2 separate regions of the Homo sapiens genome follow, and region 2 is linked to region 1. Evidence: promoter capture Hi-C in human tissues and cell types (Jung and others, 2019). All regions are on one chromosome and are shown on one strand. The core of a region is centred on a gene start or on the middle of the fragment in contact, and the rest is flanking DNA. Distances in the headings are between cores, read along the strand shown.

What was found. Contacts are between HindIII fragments. The study calls those that stand out against the background at their distance.
Region 2: a fragment that was not itself captured here is called in contact with the fragment with the promoter of MLLT1 in region 1 in 1 of the 25 tissues and cell types used here (IMR-90 fibroblasts).

Annotation. Positions count from the first base shown.
Region 1 is chr19:6,278,232-6,282,268 of GRCh38, reverse strand. MLLT1 (MLLT1 super elongation complex subunit) reads left to right here and starts at 2,294. Exons shown (of 12, transcript NM_005934.4): 1 at 2,294-2,496. The coding sequence starts at 2,485. RefSeq lists a silencer at 1,897-2,326 and an enhancer at 3,127-3,206. The HindIII fragment of the contact is 7,192 bases long and covers 1-4,037 here.
Region 2 is chr19:6,074,353-6,078,389 of GRCh38, reverse strand. The region is part of intron 1 of RFX2 (regulatory factor X2); the gene reads left to right. RFX2-AS1 (RFX2 antisense RNA 1) reads right to left here. Exons shown (of 2, transcript NR_199041.1): 2 at 1,266-1,370. Among named protein-coding and RNA genes, the nearest start is that of RFX2-AS1, 14 kb to the right of the region's middle. RefSeq lists enhancers at 3,841-4,010, 3,230-4,023. The HindIII fragment of the contact is 7,886 bases long and covers 1-4,037 here.

The sequences.
Region 1 (4,037 bases), core at 1,045-3,544:
TCTGCAACCTTGACAACATCTGTTGTTTTTTGACTTTTTAATAATCGCCATTCCGACTGGTGTCAGATGGTATCTCATTGTGGTTTTGATTTGCATTTCTCTAATGATCAGTGATGTTGAGCGTTTTTCATATGCTTATTGGCCGCATGTATGTCTTCTTTTGAGAAGTGTCTGTTCATGTCCTTTGCCCACTTTTTAATGGGGTGGTTTGTTTCTTTCTTGTAAATGACAACCCGATTTTTAATGACAAGAAGGAATTAAAATAACTGCACAAGGATCCCCAAATCACAGGCAGAAGTCCTAATGTCCAAGAGACAAGTGGCTTATAAAGTCCTGAAAAAATGGGGTTATGCCTATTTCCCACATAAACACAGTTTACAGGTCATTGTAAAATTTTGTGATCCTCAATAAATCAAAACAGTTTTTTGAGAGATGGGTATTATTTAAAATTTTGTGGATAACATGAGATTCTCTCTTTAAAAATTATATCTTTGTTCAGGGCGCAGTGGCTCATGCCTATAGTCCTAGCACTTTGGGAGGCCATGGCAGGAGGATTGCCTGAGGCCAGGAGTTGGAGACCAGCTTGGGCAACATAGTGAGATCGCTCTTTCTATAAATAAATAAATAACCAAACTAGCCGGGCGTGGTGACATGAGCCTGCAGTCAGTCCTAGTTGCTTGAGAGGCTGAGGTGGGAGAATTGTTTGAACCCAGGAGGTCTAGGTTACAGTGCGCCACGATTGTGCCACTGCACTCCAGCAGAGACCTCATCTCAAAAAAAAAATCTTTATTGACAAATAATAACTGTATATATGTATGGGGTACACCTTGATGCTTTGGTACATGTATACATTATGGAATAAACAAATCAGGCTAATTGACATATCCATCACCACATATACTTATCAATTATTTATGGTGAGAACATTCAAAATCCACTTTTAGCATTTTTTTTCTTTTTTTTCTCTTTTTTGAGACAGAGTCTTGCTCTGTCACTCAGGCTGGAGTGCAGTGGCATGATCTCATCTCACTGCAACCTCTGCCTCCCTGGTTCAGGCGATTCTCCTGCCTCAGCCTCCTGAGTAGCTAGAATTACAGGCACACACCACCACGCCCGGCTAATTTTTGTATTTTTTTAGTAGAGATGGGATTTCACCATGTTGGCCAGGCTGGTCTTGAACTTCTGACCTCAGGTGATCCGCCCCCCTCAGCCTCCCAAAGTGTTGGGATTACAGGCGTGAGCCACCGCATCTGGCCGCTTTTAGCAATTTTAAAATATAAAATTACATTATTATGTAGTCACCTTGCTGTGTGATGGATCGCCAGAACTTATTCTTCGTGTCTAACTGAAAACATGTGACTCTCTTGGGTCATTTGAATGTAGCACGATTTCAAATTTGTATCATTCAAATTAGCATGAAGAATCACACAGTACTGTTCTTCAACCTATTTCACAGATGCACAAACTGAGACTCAGGGAAAGGTGAAGAAGGGGCTGACCAGGTTTGCCAAGGATTATGCAAGATTAGAAAATTAATCTCCACTTTGGGAGGTTGAGGCAGGCGGATCACTTGAGGTCAGGAGTTCGAGACCAGCCTGGCCAACATGGCAAAACCCCGTCTCTACTAAAAATACAAAAATTAGCTGGGCATAATGGCGAGCTCCTGTAATCCCAGCTACTCGGGAGGCTGAGGCAGTAGAATCTCTTGAACCTGGGAGGTGGAGGTTGCAGTGAGCTGAGATCGTGCTAGTACACTCTAGCCTAGGCCACAGAGCGAGACGTGTCTCATAAAAAAAAAAAAGAAAAGAAAATTAATCTCCAGTTCCAGAGCCCAGGGCTCGTTCCATTACATAGCAGCATCATGAGGTCAGGAAACAAAAGTGTCCCTACCGGGGGGGCTGGGGGATCCCTCCACAGGGCTCGAACCCGTAACCTCAGTTCCAGCCCCCGGGACGCTCCCGCCCTGGAGGCTCCAGCCACGAGGCAGCGCCCCCTGCGGGCCGCAGCGCGCAGGCGCCGCGCGCCCGTCCCGCCCCCGCCCCCCTCCACGTGCGGCGCACACCTCGCGCTCCCCTCCGCCAGGCTCGCCTCGCGCCTCCCTCCCTCCCTCCTCCCGCCCCTCCGGTCCCGGCCTCCCATTGGCTGCGGGCTTCGTCCCTCCGGCCGCAGCCCGGCAGGCCCCCGCCAGGCAGGAAGTCCCGCGCCACAAGCGGCCGTCCGCGCCGTCGATTGGCCCAGGTGGCTGTCAGTCGATGCGGCGGGCCCTAGTCGGCGGCGGGGGCCCGTGATCGGTGCGCGACCCGGGCTGGCGGTGGTTTCCGGTTCCGCGGGGCTGGCGGGCGAGCGGGCGGCCGGGATCGGCGGCGGCGGCGGCGGCGGCGGCGCTTGACAGACAATGAGGGCGGCGGGGCGGCGTTGAGCGGCGGCGGCGGCGGCGGCGGCGGCGAGCGACGCGGGGCCCGGGGGCGGGGCGGGGCGCCAGCCATGGACAATCAGGTGAGGAGCGGCCGCGCCGCCCCTGCGCAGCCCGCCCGGCCCCCTCCCGCCCGCCGGCCCGCCCGGCCCTCCCCGGTCCCGGCCTCCCCGCTCCGCGCCCGCCCGCCCGCTTTGTGCGCGCCCGCCGCTCCTCGGGCCTTTATGTGGGGCGGGGGCGCCCCTCCCCCATCCGCGACCCCGGCCAGGGCGCCTCGGACACCCTTCGGGACCCGGGCCGGGCCCGGAGCCCCTTGGGACGCCCCTGGTGACCCCCCAGCCTGGCTCGGAGACCCCCGGGAGACCCCTCGGAACGCCAGTCCGACCTGCATCCACCTGGGACGCCCCTGGGGACCCCAGCCCGGCTTAGGGACCTCAAGACAGCTCTCGGGACTTCAGCCTGGCCCAGAGCTCCTTCCAGGCACTTCCTGGGATCTGGGCCCTGTTCAGACCCCTCCCGGGGCCCCTCGGATCTGCCCAGTAGACCTTTCCGTCTCTAGGTCCAGGGCCAGTCACTGTCTCCTTTCCTGTCTGGACCCTTGTCCCCGAGTCGCCTCAAACTCCCAGAGTCCCCAACCTGCTGTCTGTCTTCCCTTCAACCTCAGCTCAGATATGAGGCGTCCCCGGCCCCCTGGGACCCTGCTCTGCGGCGTCTCTCTTCCTTGAACCCCGGCCCAGCCTAAGCTTTATCTCCACCCATCCCCTACCTGGACCTGAGCCTTCTCTCCCGTCTGATCCTGCCCCGGCTGCAGCCAGGGCATCCCTTTCTCTCCCAACCCCAGCCCTGGCCTGAGCTCCTCTGACTCCCTAGGACCCTGGCCTTCGGTCTTCTGCTGCAGGGACTCAGGCCTGTTTGGAGTGTCCCCTCTCTTTGTACTTGCTTTTTCAGACTTCTTTCTTTGACCCACCCTGCCGCCTCAGCCCCCTTCTAGTTTCAGGCCCTGGTCACTCTCCCTCGGACCCGGCGGGGCTGTCTCTTTCACCTTCAGACCCTCTGCTCTGAGACCAGGACCAGGAGCAGTTTCTTCTCTGACCTGGATTCCCCAGACCTTTGAGTCACTGATGGCCTGCTGTTCCCCTCAGCTTGGGCCCTCTCCGCCCCTGGGATCCTGATTTAGGCTTCCCCACACTTGACCCCAGTCCAGATCTCCCTCCCAGGCTGGTTGGTCACGTCACAGTCCTGCAGTCTCCTGTACAACCTTTGCCTTCAGGATCTCCCACTTCATCTAACGCCCATCAGCCTGATGAGTCCTGATGTCTCTTTCAGCCACTACCCTCTCCCTCCTTCCACCTCATTTTCTGTTTTTTTCCCCCAGGATCTTAGAGCCTCAGTTGAAACCCAGGGTGGGTGGGTGGGTTCCCCAACCTCCCTAAACGCTCTGGACGGCCCCTCCCCATTGGTCTGTGTTGGTTCTCATAAACACGAGGCCTTCCTGCACCCTGGCACCCCCTTTACCCAACTCTGCGCTGCCTCTTCTCCAATACCCAAGCCCCTACCCCTCTTCCTCAAGCCCAGAAGCATTGCTGGCCCCCAACATGGGATCATTTCTTCCTCCTCCTCTGCT
Region 2 (4,037 bases), core at 440-2,939, 200 kb after region 1:
CTAATGCCACTGGGGACAGGTCGTCAATATACCTTTTTTTTTTTTTTTTTTACAGCTGTGCTGAGATCTGTTTTACATACCGTAAAGCTCACCCATTTGAAGTGTATGGTTCAGTGGGTCTTAGTATACTATCTTCACAGAACATTTTCATCACTCCGAAAAGAAGAAGAAACCCTGAACCTGCCATGAACAGCCACTTGCCCTTCCTCCTCCCAGCCCCGGGCAACTGTGAATCCACTTTCTGTCTCTGTGGATTTGCCTGTTTTGAACCTTTCATATAAACAGAATCACACACTATGTGGCCTTTTGTGACTGGCTTCTTCCACGTAACATAATGTTTTCAGGGTCCACTGTCCATCCGTTTACAGCATGTGCCAGTGCCTCGTTCCTTTTTTTTTTTTTTTTTTTTGAGATGGAATTTTGCTCTTGTTGCCCAGGCTGGAGTGCAATGGCGCGATCTTGGCTCACTGCAACCTCCGCCTCCCGGGTTCAAGCGATTCTCCTGCCTCAGCCTCCCAAGTAGCTGGGATTACAGGCATGTGCCACCACGCCCGGCTAATTTTGTATTTTAATAGAGACAGGGTTTCTCCATGTTGGTCAGGCTGGTCTCAAACTCCTGACCTCAGGTGATCCACCCGCCTCAGCCTCCCAAAGTGCTGGGATTACAGGTGTGAGCCACCGCGCCCGGCCGCCTTCGTTTATCCATCCATCAGTTGACAAACATTTGGGCTGTTGCTACTTTGGGGCCATTAGGACAACGCTGCTGTGAACATTGGTATCCAAGCATTTGTGTGGCCATGCACTGTTTAGCACATGTCTACTTCTGCAGGATGAATTTTGAGGAGGGGAAAAAGACCCCACTTATAGCTAGCTCTTTGTCTCTGACTGTGTAGGTTTGAACATCTCGTAAGTCTTGAGAAATGCTTGGAGGCCATTTCCTGCAGAGGCACACGCCCCTCTTGGGTGGGCTGGGGGAGGCAGTGGCAGAGCCCAGCCCACCTGCCCCAGCCACCAGTGCTCCCGGGTTTTGCATTCAGCCCCTGGCACACACTCATGGCTAACCCTGGTGCCCTTGCCTGTCTTTGACCCAGCACTGGCGAAGGAATTGGCAAAGCCACCAGGTTAATGATGCAAGCCCCAGAAACTTGCGGCATAGATGAGAAGGCAAATGGCCTCTCCTTTTGGAGAACTAAAGAGATTTAAGGAAGCTTGCTGGCTCACTCCCTCTCACCGGCAAGGATGGCACTAAACACAGTCCGCATCAATCACTGTTTTTGTTATGCGATTTATGAGTTGCTCAGCCGAGAATAAGGTTGCACGTGGTAGGAGGAGTTCTGTGTGTACCGAGGTCTCATGGAAGGACTGGATTTCTAGGGAAGAAAAGGGAAAAGGGAGTTGATGTTAAAATATCATTTCTATAACAGTAATGCAGTAGTGTTCATCTAGAAGGAGAGCTGCCACATTTGGCAAGATGCTGGGAGAGAAACAAGTATTAAGTACTTGGTTAAAATGACAAACCCCACAAATATGCCCTGGAATGAATATAGCTCATAGCAGGAGGCACTCCCTAAAGGGCTTAGCAACATCACAAATAGCGAAGAGTTTTTGAAATCACAAATAGCAAACAGCATAACTGCTTTTAGTTTCAGATATTTAAATCTGCAAAAAATCAGTAAATTATGTGGGTTACGTTATAATGGTGTGAATTACAACGATGACGCTAATGAACATTTATGGGCATTTTCCGTGTGCTGGGCTGGCCATTAAACTCCACACTTTGTAGGACTCCTCTCATTTAACACAACCACCCAACACAGATAGAAGTATTTTCTCCGTTTATGGACAAAGAAATGGAAGTGCAGAAAGATTTAAGTCCCTGGCTGAGGTCACCCAGCTAGAAACTGGAGGACCCAGGAACTGGACCCAGGCACCGGACCCAGGCACCCTCGCCTAGCCTCCTGTTTTAGAGCTAGGATGCACCGTAAGGTAGTTAATGGTATTCCAGTTGATGAACGTTTGTTTCTTATTTATGTATTTATTTATTTTGAGACAGAGTCTCTCTCTGTCACCCAGGCTGGAGTACAGTGGCACCATCTCGGCTCACTGCAACCTCAGCCTCCCGGGTTCAGGCGATTCTCCTGCCTCAGCCTCCCAAGTAGCTGGGATTACAGGCATGCACCACCACGCATGGCTAATTTTTGTATTATTTTTTAGTAGAGATGGGGTTTCGCCATGTTGGCCAGGCTGCTCTCGAACTCATGACCTCAAGTGATCTGCCCACCTTGGCCTCCCAAAATGTGCTGGGATTACAGGCATGAGCCACCGCCCCCAACCTCGTTTCTAATTTTTTGTGAACACCAAGCTCCGAAAGCCAAGTAAAGGGGTGACGCTGTGTATTTCAGAGCTCGATATTCCCTCTGCTTTCTTCCTCTCCTCTGTCCCCTATGCCAGATCCTCCAACTGTTCATGACCTTTGAACTTGAGAAGGGACCTCTTTTCTGCTTTATCTACACCTGCTTTCCTGGTGATCTCACCGAGGTACAAGAGTTGAAATGCATCTTAGAACCTCCAGTGTCCTAGTGTCTGCAGCCTGGCTCACTCCCCGAATCCTGGACTTGTGTACCTAGCTGCCTAGGTGGCAGCTGCATGTGGGTGTCATCTGATGGGCATCTGAGGCTTCTGTCACCCAAAACTGGGTGCCTGATTCGACCTCACACTTGTCTCTCCCCAGACCACGGGCTTCCCCAGCTCAGCACCGGGCAGCTCCATTCTCTAGGTGCTCAGGCCAGCCCCAAGCCTTAAGTCAGCCTCGACTCCTCTCTTTCTTTCACCCTTTATGTCAAACCCGTCAGCAAACCTGGCTGGCTCTGTCTTCAGGTGTCTCCCAAATGAGAGCACTGCTATCACGTAAGTCTTTGTCACCTCTGACCTGGTTGTCCAGCCCTGACGTTTGCTTCCATTGACCGTTGATACTTCCAAAATATCTGTCAGATTGTGTCCCTGTGCCCTAAACCTTCCAGTAGCTTCCCAGCACACTCAGAGCGAAAGCCAAACACTCCACTGTGGCCTCCTTGTGTCTCTAAGTCCATCTTCTCCTCCTCCTCCTCCTCCTCCTCCACCTTCTCCTCCTCTTCTTTCTCCTCTTCCTCCTTCTCCTCCTGTCTTAATCTGTTTGGGCTGTTTCAGCAAAAGGCCATAGACTGGGTGGCTGTAAACAACAGACACACATCTCTCAGCCCTGGAGGTGGGAAGTCTGAGAAGAGGGTGCCAGCAGGGTCAGGTTCTGGTGAGGGCTTCCCTCTGGGATGCAGATGGCTGTCTTCTTGCTGTGTCCTCACATCACATGGTGGGAAGCCAGAGAGAGCTCTCTGGGGTCCCTTCCATAAGGGAGGGCATGATCCCACCCTCATGACCTAATCACCTCCCAAAGGCCCCACCTCCTAAAGCTACTGCCTTGGGGTGAGGAGTTCAGCATAGGAATTTAAGGGGACACAACATTCAACCCCCAGCATTCCCCCAGCTCCCTCTGGTGGCCTCCTCACGTGACCCGTGTGACCCCACATGTCCCGTGTGCCTCAGCCTTGCCGAGCACCATCCCTGGCAGAGCCTTCTCAGCGGCGACACTTTCCTCACCTCACTCTGCCTCTGTCCTGTCACTGCCCCAGGTCACCTTGTTGCCCCTGGCCCATGCCGCACTCCACTTGTGCATTTGAGTGTATTTTTCTTCAGAGCATTTGTCACCTCCTGCTGTTCTGTGTCCATGGTGTCGTCTGTCTCTCCCTGAGGGGTCAGCCCCACATGGTCAGGGACTCAATCTGTTTCATTCCCTGCTGTGTCCTCAGCACTTGAAGCCGGCACATGGCAGATGCTCAGACTGTGTTTGTTGAATGAATGAACGATGGCTGAGTGTCCAGGCTCTGAGGGAGTGTGTTATGGGCACCCTTCAAGCCCCAGCCCCTGTACCCAGGGCACTGTGTGGGGTGAGGAGATGCACCGGCACAGGCCGGGTGCTAAGAGGAAGGTGGAAAGGTTCTAGC